Linked DNA regions of Homo sapiens: region 2 is linked to region 1. The links are contacts of gene promoters, found by promoter capture Hi-C in human tissues and cell types (Jung and others, 2019). All regions are on one chromosome and are shown on one strand. Each heading gives the region's core, a stretch centred on a gene start or on the middle of the fragment in contact. The rest is flanking DNA. Distances are from core to core; before and after follow the strand shown. Region 1 holds the start of ZNF559 (zinc finger protein 559). Region 2 overlaps ZNF562 (zinc finger protein 562).

The links. The method cuts DNA at HindIII sites, captures the fragments that hold promoters and counts their contacts. A contact is called where the count stands out against the background at its distance.
Region 2: a fragment that was not itself captured here is called in contact with the fragment with the promoter of ZNF559 in region 1 in 2 of the 25 tissues and cell types used here (adrenal gland and dorsolateral prefrontal cortex).

Annotation. Positions count from the first base shown.
Region 1 is chr19:9,322,261-9,325,496 of GRCh38, forward strand. It overlaps ZNF559 (zinc finger protein 559), which reads left to right and starts at 1,919. Exons shown (of 7, transcript NM_032497.3): 1 at 1,919-1,968; 2 at 2,435-2,520. ZNF559-ZNF177 (ZNF559-ZNF177 readthrough) reads left to right here and starts at 1,919. Exons shown (of 13, transcript NM_001384659.1): 1 at 1,919-1,968; 2 at 2,435-2,520. RefSeq lists an enhancer at 1,763-2,012 and a silencer at 2,183-2,322. The HindIII fragment of the contact is 8,356 bases long and covers 1-3,236 here.
Region 2 is chr19:9,667,410-9,670,591 of GRCh38, forward strand. All of the region lies in intron 1 of ZNF562 (zinc finger protein 562), which reads right to left. Among named protein-coding and RNA genes, the nearest start is that of ZNF562, 6.1 kb to the right of the region's middle. The HindIII fragment of the contact is 8,758 bases long and covers 1-3,182 here.

The DNA.
Region 1 (3,236 bases), core at 669-3,168:
TGTAGCTAGCTAATCTAGTGGGGATGTGGAGAACCTTTGTGTCTAGCTCAGGGATTGTAAAGGCACCAATCAGCGCCCTGTCAAAACAGACCACTTGACTCTACCAGTCAGCAGGATGTGGGTGGGGCCACATAAGAGAATAAAAGCAGGCTGCCCCAGCCAGCAGTGGTAACCCGCTTTGATCCCCTTCCACGCCGTGGAAGCTTTGTTGTTTCACTCTTTGCAATAACTCTTGCTACTGCTCACTCTTTGGGTCCACACTGCTTTTATGAGCTGTAACACTCACCGCGAAGGTCTGCAGCTTCACTCCTGAAGCCAGCGAGACCACGAGCCCACCGGGAGAAATGAACAACTCCAGACGCGCCGCTTTAAGAGCTCTAACACTCACCGCGAAGGTCTGCAGCTTCACTCCTGAGCCAGCAAGACCACGAACCCACCAGAAGGAAGAAACTCCGAGCACATCCGAACATCAGAAGGAACAAACTCCAGACGTGCCACCTTAAGATCTGTAACACTCACCACGAGGGTCCCCGGCTTCATTCTTGGAGTCGGTGAGACCAAGAACCCACCAATTCCGGACACATTAGTACAGGTCTTTGAATAAATTTTGCTTCTAACAGAAGTTACTATTTATTCCTAATTAGATGGGCAGGAAAGTCTTTGAAGAGGAACCTCTACTTTACTTTTTACTGTAGAGAGAGTAGTCTTTGATCTTGGGGAGATGGGGTTTTTCCTTTTGGTTTAGCTTCAGGAAGTTTGTGTTAATTGGCCTTAGGTGCCCTGCCCCCAGCCCCAGGTGTTTTTCCTTTGATTTAACTTTAGGAAATTATCACGAATTGGCCTTAGATTCCCCGACCCCAGATCTTGGTGTTTTCACTTTTAGGAAGTCCGCATGAATCTTATCTATGCTCTTAACTACGTCCTAATTTTTGTGTTTTTTGTCTTTTTTATAGGAATAGGGTTTTGCCATATTGCCCAGGCTGGTCTCGAACTCCTGAGCTCAAGTGGTCTGCCTGCCTCAGCCTCCCAAAGTGCTGGGATCACTGGCGTGAGCCATCAGGCCCAGCCTCTATGTGCTAATTTTTGAACAAATTCCAATAGGAGCATTCTAGTCTCTGAGTGTGAGATGACCAAAAATCAAGCCCTTGTGAGGCTGAATAGAGTCGGGAGGCAGGGAACTTAAGGCTGTTTCAGGCCGACTTCCTAGAACTAAATTGAAAGGAAAACCCTCACTTTCCTCGCCTAAATAACAAAAGGACCAGAGGCTACTCCCTTTGACCTTTTCTGCTGGCAGATAGGAAATTGGCTGTCTGCAACAAATCAGACTGATGGCCGGTTGAGTCTTCATTTGCATAGAAGTGTAACTTTGTAACGTCGTAACTTCACCCTAGCCTTTGATTGGTTGCTTTTTGCAACCAATCAGATGTTTGCACAGGAGTGTGACCTTTGTAACTTCAGACTCTGGTTGGCTGCTTTCTGCAACCAATCAGACTGAACGCGGGCTACCGCTTCATTTACAGGAGGTGAGCATGAAGTGGCCAATGGGAAAATTCTAGGAGGTATTGGGACTCATGAAGGTTCTGTTTCGGAGCCCTTGAGCTGCCGCTTGGCCAGTTCCCACACTGTGGAGTATGCTTTCGTTTTCAACAAATCCCAGCTCTTGTTCTTTTGTTGCTTCATTCTTTCTTTGCTTTGCTGGGCGTTTTGTCTAATTCTTTGTTCAAAACGCCAGTAACCTGGACAGCTTGCAGTCAAGACCCCCTACCGGTGACACTTGCGCTCTTCGGGGAGGTAAACAGCATTTCCTCTCAGCTCTGGGTTGGAAAAAGCCGCAGCAGCTGATGGGCCCGGGAACCCGAGGCCCCGCCCCCTAGGTGGTCCTAGCCTTTGCGCGTGCGCGGCGTGTCTGCGTGGGCGCATGCGCATAACGGCCGCCATCTTAACAGCGCGTTCCCGTTGGCGTCTGAGGTAAGTTTTTGTTTCTGGGCGGCGTTCGGTGGTGTCCCGGTGCAGCCACGCGAGAGTAGAAGGGTGGAAAGGGGAGGTGCCCAGTGAAATGGAGCCTGTCCCGTGCACTTTCGGGCATTTCGAGCATCTTGTGGGCTCTCCCAAGTCGCGGCCCCTCCTCTGAGAGCCACAGTCAGGTCTGTCCTCAGGGGTCGAGGCGGCTGCGCTGGGGCCTCGGCCCGGGAGGAGGCGGGGGGCACGGCCTTTCCATTTTCCCTGCTCCCCTCTGCAGAAGCCTCATAGGGCCCGGCGCGGCGGCTCACGCCTGTCATTCCCAGCGCTTTGGGCGGATTGGGTAGGAGGATTACTTGAGGCCAGGAGTTCAAGACCAGGCAGGGCAACATAGGGAGACCCCCCCCCCCAACCATCTCTAATGGAAAAAAAAAAAAAAGTCTCCACATCCAGCGTTGTGCCTTTTCTCTATAAGGAACAGCATCTCTGCCTTCCTGTTCACGGTGACCTTCGCTTGGTGTCCTCCTGGCCTCAGCAACCTGACAATTCTGTCGTGTCCCGGTGAGCACTTCATGCACTTGTTCTGGCTGTGGGTGTCGGGTCTTGAAGTTTAAGTTGTGTCGAGGTGGAAAGAAACCTTTTCAGGTGGTTGTTCGAGAGCACATGGATCTGATACCATCGAATGCATGAGTGGATGAATGCACATAACTGTAAAATTTACCACCAAGGAAAAACACAGGACTACTCAACTGTGGTTCCAGGCCATCACCTAGATCTCACTCTAGCGCCCTGTAGATTCCCCCAGAGGTTCAAAACGAGGGCATCCCCAGGAACACGGTGCGGGCTGATTTACTAGCAGGAGGGATTGAATTGATAATGAATGCGAAGATAACTTTTGACAGGTGGGTTTTCTACCAGTTACTCATTTGAAAGTCTTACTGAGGGCGGGGCAAGGTGGCTCACACCTGTAATCCCAGCGTTTTGGGAGGCTGAGGCTGGAGGATCGCTTGAGCCCAGGAATTTGATGCCAACCTGGAAAAAATAGGGCAAGCCTCTGTCTCTACTAAAAATAAAAAATTAGCTGGGCATGGTGGTGTCTGTGGTCCCATCCACTTTGGAGGCCGAGATGCGAGGATCACTTGAGCATGGGAGGTCGAGGCTGCTGTGAGCCATTATTGTGTCACTGCATTCCAGCTTAGGCAACAGAGTGAGACCCTGTTTCAAAAAGAAGAAAAAAAAACAAATACTGATCTAGAGAACATCTGTAGCTCGAGTAA
Region 2 (3,182 bases), core at 164-2,663, 340 kb after region 1:
ATACTGAACAGGGAAAAATTGAAAGTCTTTCCTCTGAGATCTTGAACAGAACAAGGATGTCCACTTTTACCACTTCTATTCAACATAATACTATAAGTTCTGGCCAGAGCAATTAGGCAAGAGAAACAAATAAAGGGCATCTCAACTAAAAAAGAAGTCAAATTAGCCATGTTTGCCAATGACATGACCTTTTTCTCCTTAGAAACAGGGTCTCCCTCTGTTGCTCAGGCTAGAATGCAGTGGTGATCATAGCTCACTGCAGCCTTGGTCTCCTGGGCTCAAGTGATACTCCTGCCTCAGCCTCCCGAGTAGCTAGAACCACAGGCATGTGTGACAATGCTAACTTTTTTTTTTTTTAGAGACTGGGGGCAGAGGGGTCCTCAATATATTACCCAGGCTGACCTTGAACTCCTGATTTCAAGTGATCCTCTTGCTTTGGCCTCCTAAAGTGCTGGGATTACAGGCATGAGCCACCATGCTCAGCTGACATAATCATATTTAGAAAAACCTAAAGACTCTACCAAAAACCTGTTAGAACTGATAAATGAATTCAGTAAATGTTCAGGACACAAAATCAACATACAAAAATCAGTTGCATTTATATACGCCAACGGTGAACAATCTGAAAAAGAAATCAAGGAAGTAATCACATTTACAATAGCTGCAAAGACTATAAAATGCCAGCACCAGGCATGATGACTCACAATTGTAATCCCAGAATTTTGGGAGGCTGAGGTGGAAGGATTGCTTAAGCCCAACAGTTCAAGACCAGCCTGGGCAACATGGCACGGCTCAGTCTCAATTAAAAAAAAGAAATTAGCCAGGCATGATGGCACACACCTGTAGTCCCAGCTACTCAAAAGAGACTGAGGCAGGAGGATTCCTTGAGCCCAGGAGTTCAAGGCTGCTGCATGAGCTACAACTGCACCACTGTACTCCAGCCTGGGCAACAAAGTGAGACCCCACCTCTGAAAAAAAGAGAAAATAAAAAGTAACCAAAAATGTGAAGGAGCTATACAAGGAAAACTATAAAACACTGATGAAACAAACTGTAGAGAATACAGAAAAAAAATGGAAAGACATTCCATGCTCATGGATTAGAAGAATATTGTTAAAATGACAATACTACCCAAAGCAATTTACAATTAAGAGCAACCGTTATCAAAATAGCAATGACATTCATCGCAAAAATAGAAAAAAAATCCTAAAATTTATATGCAACAATAAAAGACTTCAAACAGCCAAAGAAATACTGAACAAAAAGAACAAAGCTGGAATCATCACACTGCCTTACTTCAAAATATACTACAAAGCTATCATAACCAAATCAGCATGGTACTGACATAAAAAAAACAAACAAACACATAGATCAATGGAAGAGAACAAAGAACCTAAATACAAATCTACACATGTACAGACAGCTCATTTTCAACAAAGGCACCAAAAGCATACAATGGGAAAATAACAGTCTTTTCAATAAATGCTGCTGGGAAAACTGGATAACCATATGCAGAATAAAACTAGATGCCATCTCTCAGCATAAAAAAAAAAAGTCAAAACAGATTAAAGACTTACATCTAACACCTGAAACTATAAAACTAGTAGAGGAAGACCCTTGGGAAACAATCCAGGGCATTGGTCTGGGTAAAGATTTCTTGGGAAGATCTCAAAAGCACAGGCAACAAGAGCAAAAACAAACATATGAGATTACATCAAGCTAAAAAGCTTCTCCACAGCAAAAGAAACAATCAACAAAGTGAAGAAACAATCTACAGTATGGGAGAAAATATTTACAAACTATCCACCTGGGATTAATAATCAGAATATATAAGGAACTCAAACTTGATAACAAAAAAAATCCGATAAAAAAATCAGCAAAAGGTCAGAATAGATGTTTCTCAAAAAAAAGACATACAAATGGCCAACAGGCATACAAAAAAATGCTCAACATCACTAATCATCAGAGAAATACAAATCACACATAACCACAATGAGATATCATCTCACCTCATTTAGAGTGGCTTTTATAAAAAAGACAGGGAATAACAAATGCTGATGAGGATATGGTGAAAAGATAATCCTTGTATGCAGTTGGTGGGAATATAAATTAGTACAGCCACTGTAGAGAACAATATTCAGGTGTGGTGGCTCAGGCCTTTAATCCCAAAACTTGAGGCTGCGGTGGGAGATCACTTGAGCCCAGGAGTTCCAGACCAGGCTAGGCAACACAGCAACACCTGTCTGTACACACATGCACGCACAAAACCTGTCTGAAACTGGCAAGACCTGTCTGCATGCACGCGCGCGAGCGCGCGCGCGCGCGCGCACACACACACACACACACACACACACACACACACACACACAACCAGTCAGGGACAGTAGCTCATGCCTGTAATCCCAGCTCTTTAGGAGGCCAAGGCAGGCAGATCATTTGAGGTCAGGAGTTTGAGACCAGCCTGGTCAACATGGTGAAACTCTGTCTCTACTGAAAATACAAAAATTAGCTGGGCATGGTGGCGTGCACCTGTAGTCCCAGCTACTCCAGAGGCTGAGGTAAGAGAATTGCTTGAACCCAGGAGGCGGACGTTGCAGTGAACCAAGATCGTGCCACTGCACCCCAGCCTGAGTGACAGAGTGAGACTCTGTCTCAAAAAATCAAAGAAACAAACAAAAAAACTTAGCCAGGTGTATTAGTGGAGGCCTGTAGTCCTGGCTACTCAGGAAGCTGAGGTGGGAGGATCACCTGAGCCCAGGAAGTCAAGGCTGCAGTGAGCCATGATTATGCCATGGCACTCTAGCCTGGGTGACACAGCAAGACTATCTCAAAAAAAACAAAACAAAACAAAAAAAACAGTATGGGGGTTTCTCAAAAAATTAAAAATAGAACTACCATATGATCTGGAATCCCATTGGGTATATATCCAAAAGAAAGGAAATCAATATATTTGAAAAGATATATATACATTCCCTTGTTTACCGCAGCACTACTCATAATAGCCAAAATATGGAATCAACCTAAGTGTCTAACAATGAAAGAATGAATAAAGAAAATATGGTATATATAGACAGCAGATTATTATTCAGCCATAAAGAGAATGGAATTCTGTCATTTGCAGCAACTGGATAGAACTGGAGGTCATCATGGAAGTGAAATAAGCCAAGCACAGCAGACAAATACC